Regions from separate parts of the Homo sapiens genome. Here region 1 is linked to region 2. Evidence: promoter capture Hi-C in human tissues and cell types (Jung and others, 2019). All regions are on one chromosome and are shown on one strand. The core of a region is centred on a gene start or on the middle of the fragment in contact, and the rest is flanking DNA. Distances in the headings are between cores, read along the strand shown.

Region 1 (3,654 bases), core at 673-3,172, 280 kb after region 2:
TCCTATTTCTGTATATAGGGAAGGAAAAGATTGAAGCCATTAAACAGTGATTTTTTTCCATTGATTTTACATTTTTAAAACTATTTTGATGGAGCAAAGTATTTCAATCTAACATACAATAGCATTTTAGTCAACATTGTGGGCTCTGGATAGAGTCACATCACCTGTATTCAAATTTGTATTTGCACTCTCCTTCAGCTTCATTCTGTGTACTTCATTATGTTCTGCATATCGGATAATATTGTAATTTTGTGGTAAGAATTAAAAGATAGTAGTGTGTAGAATAATTTCTTGAACATTTTAAGAATAAAACTACTTTTCTAATATTACAGCAAATAAACTGATAAATTATTGTCAAATCAAAATGTAATTATCAAGTATCCATAATTTTTATAATTTAATTTATACACCTCCTTTTTTTTCAGAGACTAACTTCATGAGTGCAATTTAACATATCTCTAAGAAGTATCCATTTGTGTATATGGAGATCAAAACATTTCTGCTTCTGTCATGTATTTTCTGATTAAATTTAGGTAAGTTACCTAACATCTCAAGACTAGTTTCCTATCTCTGCAACAGAGATAACTCTTTTTTCTACAAATAACAGAAAATTCAAAAAATTAAGTGAAATAATTTGGGGAATAATTTTGGCAGCTTGGAATATGAGCCTGATGATCACTGTATTTGGATTTTTCATCCACCTGATACTTAATGTTGTTATTCTAGAAACTTGGGAAGAGAAGTCAGGGATTAAATTTTACAAGTCTGTCTTTGAGATTGAAATCCATAGAGACAACCTATTAGAATACTGAAATAAACTCAAATAAAAGTAAGACTACACTGATCCTTTAGAAAAATGAAGATATGTTCACGGCCTTCAAAATGCAGTTTCTCCAGTGCCTGGCGTCTGATCTCAGCAAGGAGAGAGTAAACCAATGTGTGACCAGGGTGTCTTTTTAAACCATATAAACTCCTCCATTTATTTCCTGTGACCACATAATAACAACAAAACAGAATGTAAGTGAAATTTTGGGTTAGTTCTTTACAGAAGGCTAAAAAATATTTTGAGTGTTTTTCAAGGAATTAAACGAATCCAGCAGATTAATTTGGACCAATAAAGGATTGAGTCTTTAAAGCCAATTCTCTCTGCAAAACTTCAATAGCAAAGCCAGCGTAGCGGAAAAATTGCAAACAAAAGTATTTTCAACTGAAAATATGAAAACAGATTCAGTCTCCTTTAAGTGACCTATAAAGTACTTAGCCTCATCACTGGCATGTAGAACAAGTCAATGTACTTGTTTAAAATTTTTAAATACTTGTGCAGTTATAACCAATAAGAACCAAACAAGCAGCTCTCTAGCATGGGAAACACCAGGTCATAATATCAATATTTAAAGTATATTCCAATTTGCCAACTAATTTATAAACATTATCCCATCGTCTTAGAATCAGAAAACTCTGTTACCACATTTTTCAAAGAAAATACAAGAAACCCTCTACTGGAAGTATGCCAATTCTCAAGTATCATGTGACCATTTAGAAGAATACATATTGATTGGAAGGTGACTAAGCTGAAATTTAGTTTAGTGAATTATAAATATTCAGTGCCCCTGATAGATATTATGTTTCTTTAAAAAGAAATATGTTATTTTCATAAAACTTTCAAACATTGCTTAATTTGAAAACCATCTATCTTCATTTGGCCACTGCCTTTCCCAAATCTCTAACAAGACTATGAATTAGTAACTTCAAGACAGTACAACTCACCATTAAATTTCCTATATCTGAGAAAGAGCTCTTCATTAAAACTCTGCTTCCAAAATGAGATTCAATCATGGCAAATGCAAAACAGTCCACATATGACAGGAAAATCACAAATGCAAATACAAACTAACTAAATTGTAGCTTACTGTCAATTATACTTTTAGAATAGTTATTGGAAAAGTCAAGCTTTTTCTTCAATTAAATGATGTATATAGGGAGCCAAATGAGAGCCTGAATCCAGGATTTCAGAATGAAACAAGTTCTAGATAAATTCAAATCTCATTGCAGAATCATTTAGCCAACAGCCCATATGGCCAGCTGCACCTTTATGAATGTGACAAAGGCAGAGTGGTTTGAAACAGCTCAGCAAAAAAAAAATATAAAGCCCTTGGACATTCAATGAGGATAAATTATAGCTTATAAATTATGTATTTATCTAAGAAGTGAAATTCAAAAAGAATTGCTTAAAAGTTATATTCATACCATATATGCATTCTGAGGTAGCTGTTGTAAGAAAGTGCAATTTTAACAATGAAATGTTTCTTGTAAAGTATTATTTTCAGAGAAATTAATCTTAATTAAATCAATATGTGTGGAGGGGGTTTGATTGGTTTTTTTTTTTTTGGTTTTTTGCTTTGGCTAAGAAGAGTTTCCGTATATTTGACTACCTTTTATTGCCCTAGTTTGCCCTGGAAATTTGAAAGAAAAGACCATAGAAAAGGAATACCCAAATGCTGGCTATTATGGTGAAGATATTTGCAATATAAAAGAATTCTTATTGTTGCACTAGAATAAGAAGTATTGGGGCATATTAAAATATCATTTTCATAATGGCTTGTAACAGTATAGACAAAAAGCAAGGGACATCTGTCATGAAAAAGATTACCCCAATAGTCAGTATACATTTCAAGATTTTTAGTCACATTACATCATTATTAATAATTTGGCATGTATATATCATCTGGATGGTTATTTATATGCATTGTTTCCCCTCATTTGCTCAAGTGTCTTTAACTCAGCAAGTTTATTTAATGAAACACATTCATAATAAAACATTAACGGAAACAGAATTTTTGAAAAACGGAAAACTGAGATTGATTGAACTTTTATTTTAACTAAGAAGCAGAATTCCGTATAGGTCTACAGTATTTGAAAACTCAGTAGATCCTTTTAAATGTAAACACTTAATATATATAACTAATCTCAGAGAGGTAACTTAGGACATTAAGTTATAAACTATGCAGATCGCACTTATTTTTCATTCACCTCATAGTCATGATACTGGTCTAGGGCTTGGATTGGAGCCGAAGTTTCTTCACCTGTATCTAGAAGCGGGAATGCCTTCAGGAGGCTAGAGGGCAAGACAAATACTATTTGCTGGGCAAAGTCAGGGTTTATTAAGAAGAAAAGCCAAGACAAAAAACCACAGGCAAAATTGCTATGTAGGACATAAAACTAGAATTTTAGAAGAGATATGGATAGGACCAATATTGCTGCATTTTGGACAGCAGTGATGTGTAGAAGATGGGTGGGGAAGTAATGAAGCTGGCAGGAGAAAGTGACAGGTGGCATCGACATTTGCTTTCAATAGCTAGTGGATGTACATTTCATGGAAGACCCTGAGGGGATCTCTAAAAGCCATGATTGGTGTAAACAGTGGGTAGTAAGTCCAGTTCTTTCATTTTTGAAATTTTCCATACTATCACAATCTTATATTTAGCCTTTTTTTGAAAATATTTCTATATAGAATGGTTATTTTCTTGCTGTGGTAAGCACAATATGAGGACAGATATTTAATAATATTAATAGCTAACATTTTTTGAGTGGTTAGTATCACCCAACCAGGAACTTAGCACTTTGAGCACCATATCTTATTCTACAAAGTAGTGG
Region 2 (3,501 bases), core at 456-2,955:
AGTAACTTTTTCACTTAAGAATAATATATATTACATTATAGAACCATTTGCCTATTTAACAATAATAAAGAAAAAACATCCATGCTCTCAAACTACAGGCAACTGTTTATATTTTGTATATTTCTTTCCATTTCAAGGCAGATATGTAATATATTTATATCTATATGTTATCTATATGTGAATATAGTTTACATCCTATTACAATACCTCATATCCTATACTTTGCATCCTGATTTTAATTTTATATCACTCCGCGTATAACAGCCTTATAAGATGGTTTTTACTGGCTTTATAAAAACTCAATAGATGGCTATTCCATAATTTTAAAAACTCAGTAATTCCAAGGGGAACATCATATCTCCACAGGTGGACTGTCAATAATTTTGAGAAAAATTTTCCCCCATGATTCTGATTTGTTTTAACCAACCTATTAATTTTGAAATTTCAAACAGTGTTAATGGAAGACACCCTGACCCTTCCCTTTGGAAAATATGGGCTAAATAAAAGCGGTTGAAAAATAATGATTTTATCAATGTCCCTTGTTGGACATTCAGTTTATTTAAATGGATACACCTCATACCCAAATCTTTTTAGAGTTCTCATTAGGTTTAGGATACTTCTGAAAGGGTGGAATTGCTGGACCAAACGATGTGAACATTTTAATAGTCTTGATACATACTGACTGTCTGCCAGAAAACTTAGGAGTTTTAAATCTCCGACAACATTGTATGAGAAAGCTCATTATCTCACATATGGATCTACAGTAATCCTCTTAAATTGTATATCGTTCTGACTTGTATTTCCTACTTTTACATAGCTTCATTTCCCAATTCCTGTTAGAATTCCCTGATTCTAACAGGATCACACTGATCCTGTTAGAAGAGAGAAATATATGACTCTCACTTCCTTGCTCCTGTGACTGTAAGAATGCCTACCATTCATTAAACGTTAAACTCTCCGCAGGAATGAGACTAGAGTGCCCTTAATATTATTACCGGCATCTCATTGATCCCTCAAAACGACTCCTTGTCGTTGTTCTTATCTTCTAAGTGAAATGACCTAGACGTTGGGGGAGGGCAGCCCCAACCCACAGCGAAGAGCTTAAGTACTGGGATCCGAGACGGGATTTCACACACCTGTAACTAGCACCAGAGTTAAGGGGTGGGGAGGGGCAGCGTGGGCAAAGCGAAACGAAACCGAGCAAAAACAAAAACTACGGCCTTGCCGCTTGCTGTCTCCTTCTAGTTGGCCAGTTTCTAAATTAAAATAGAGGTAGCTTTGCTGCTGTCAGCGGCGTGTGTACGGACCAGTTTATTCCATTCCTAAGGACCAGACTGTCAGCGACAACTCGCATTGCGTGAGCGAGGAGGCTGCTCAGCTGAAAGCTGAGGCAGATGGTGCACATTTATACCCTTTGCAAAAGGAAATGGTCTGATATGGGAAATAGGAGGAGCGACTGTTCCTAGGTAATTCGTGGCTACAGTGGACACTTTGAAGTCTGGGGGACGCGAAGGTAATGAAACCTGAAGAGCGCACAATCTCACACGATCGACGCCTCTGGGCTCAAACAGGAGGAAGAAGGACGCATGCGTCACGCGCACGCCAGGGGTGTCCCTCCGGGAGCGCTCTGCGCAGGCGCGGACGCAGGTTACAGCAGCGCTTGGCCTCTGCTGATGCCGTCGTTATCCTACCCCTCCCCCGTCCCAGCTCTACGGCGGCCGCGCGCTCCAGGCCGGTCGCTCCACCCCCCGGCTCCCGGGACTGTGGACTCCACGACCCTGTCCTCGGCCCTGTCCGCGCCGAAGCAGCCCGGGACTGCGCAGCGCCCCGCGTGCCGGTGAGCGACCCCGGACGTGCAGTCCCCAGGTCCCCTTCCGGAGCGAGGCTGAGCGGCTGCGCCGCGGCTTGAGCCGGGCCTGACAAGGAGGGGAGGCCGCTGGGGTGCTGGGCCAGCCGCAGGTACGGCGGCGGTCAGGGCTGGTGATCGAGTTGCTGTGTCGCCTCTAATGAGGCCCAGCCAGGGAACACTCGGCTTCGGCCCAAGCCCTACCTCTGGGTTGCCTCTAGGCCCTCACACCTTGAGCGCCAGGTGGCCCTCTTCCTTTTGCTGTTGATGAATGTTCTTGCCGTGGTGCCGGGATCTTATTTTGCAGCTTTACAGAGTAGGCTTTGTGCTAGGTGTTGTTTATGGAGCTTTTCAAAGGCGCTTGTTTCCTTAGTTCTCAAGCCCTTTTAGAACTAAAACCAGTGTCTACACAGAAGATCAGGAGCCATTTAAATTGGAGTGCTGTGATATATTTTTTCTCTCCAAACTGAGTCTGATATCCATGTTGACTTTCAGTAAACTAAGGAACCGCTATAATAAATAACACTGAGCCCACAGAGGTTGCAGAAGAGGGTCTAGCACCCCTTTTTTAAACCATTGAGTCTCCCAAGAATAAAAGTGGTTACACTTGTCAGTTCTCTAAGGAAAATCTAGTAGAGAAGGCAAGGGATTCCCAGTTTCTCACAGAGTCTGGCACTTGTCCAAACACCTACCCTAAAGCAGAATCGATCATGGCAGCTATTAGATTAGGACAGAAAACAGGCTCAAACGGAGAGCCACTTGAGTCTGCCTTTCTGTGTCTTTTTTCTCAACGCGCTCCAGTTAAGATGCAGCTTACAGCCTGGCTGTGTTGACTGAGATCCCAGAAAGAGTGCCCTTAAGGCCTTGCTGATAAGGCCCAATGATCCCAATTCATCTAGTGTTCCGCATAGACCCCAAGGTTACAGTGTGTGGGGACAGTGATGTTAAGTCTTCCCTATCCTACCTGTGGCTGACAGGTGTTGATTAAGACAATGATTTTTTAGAAGTCATAAATCATTTGTATTTTTGATGTGGGCAGTGATTTTTATAAATACATAGTTTTTTTTTTTTGAAAGAGTGAAAATCTCATTTTACATTTGTTTGCATACCATTTGTATAGTTTTTTAAATTCTGTTTATTTGAGTGACAGCAACAAGTGGATGGCATGCGAATTTTATTTATTTTTTTATCTTTGTATTTATTTTGTGTATATTCATGGAGTACAAGTGCCATTTGCTACATTGATACACAACATCCTGGTGAAGTCAGAGCCCTTAGTGCATCCAGCACTGGAGCAACACACATTGTACCCACCAAGCAGGCTCCTATCAGGCATGCCAGTTCTAGAAAGTAAAATTTTCTTCATACTCTAGGATGAACTGACTTACTTGGAATGTCTGTTTTGTTTAATCAAATAAGTGAGAATTTTTGAAAGAAATACTATCTGTCTGAATGTATGTAATCTATTTTTAGGAACCGCTAAAAGACATATCAAATTTAGAAGGAGTATAATTATGTTATTTTTCAGTTTTACTTTTTCACTTTATTTTTTCTCAGGATATAAGCAGGAAAATACCAGCAGGGTGTATTATATGACTGTTAAGTTCTTTTCAGCTTTAAAAGGGTATGACCTTAAGTATAAAGTTACTTCATTA

The links. The method cuts DNA at HindIII sites, captures the fragments that hold promoters and counts their contacts. A contact is called where the count stands out against the background at its distance.
Region 1: a contact is called between a fragment that was not itself captured here and the fragment with the promoter of TMEM106B in region 2, in 1 of the 25 tissues and cell types used here (H1 embryonic stem cells).

Annotation. Positions count from the first base shown.
Region 1 is chr7:12,486,539-12,490,192 of GRCh38, forward strand. The region is part of intron 6 of LOC105375156 (a long non-coding RNA gene); the gene reads right to left. It also overlaps a transcript of C7orf78 not described here. Among named protein-coding and RNA genes, the nearest start is that of C7orf78, 16 kb to the right of the region's middle. The HindIII fragment of the contact is 7,072 bases long and covers 1-3,654 here.
Region 2 is chr7:12,209,589-12,213,089 of GRCh38, forward strand. It overlaps TMEM106B (transmembrane protein 106B), which reads left to right and starts at 1,706. Exons shown (of 8, transcript NM_001134232.2): 1 at 1,706-1,837. RefSeq lists enhancers at 1,105-1,254, 1,388-1,906, 1,465-1,514, 1,907-2,423 and a silencer at 1,695-2,004. The HindIII fragment of the contact is 10,585 bases long and covers 1-3,501 here.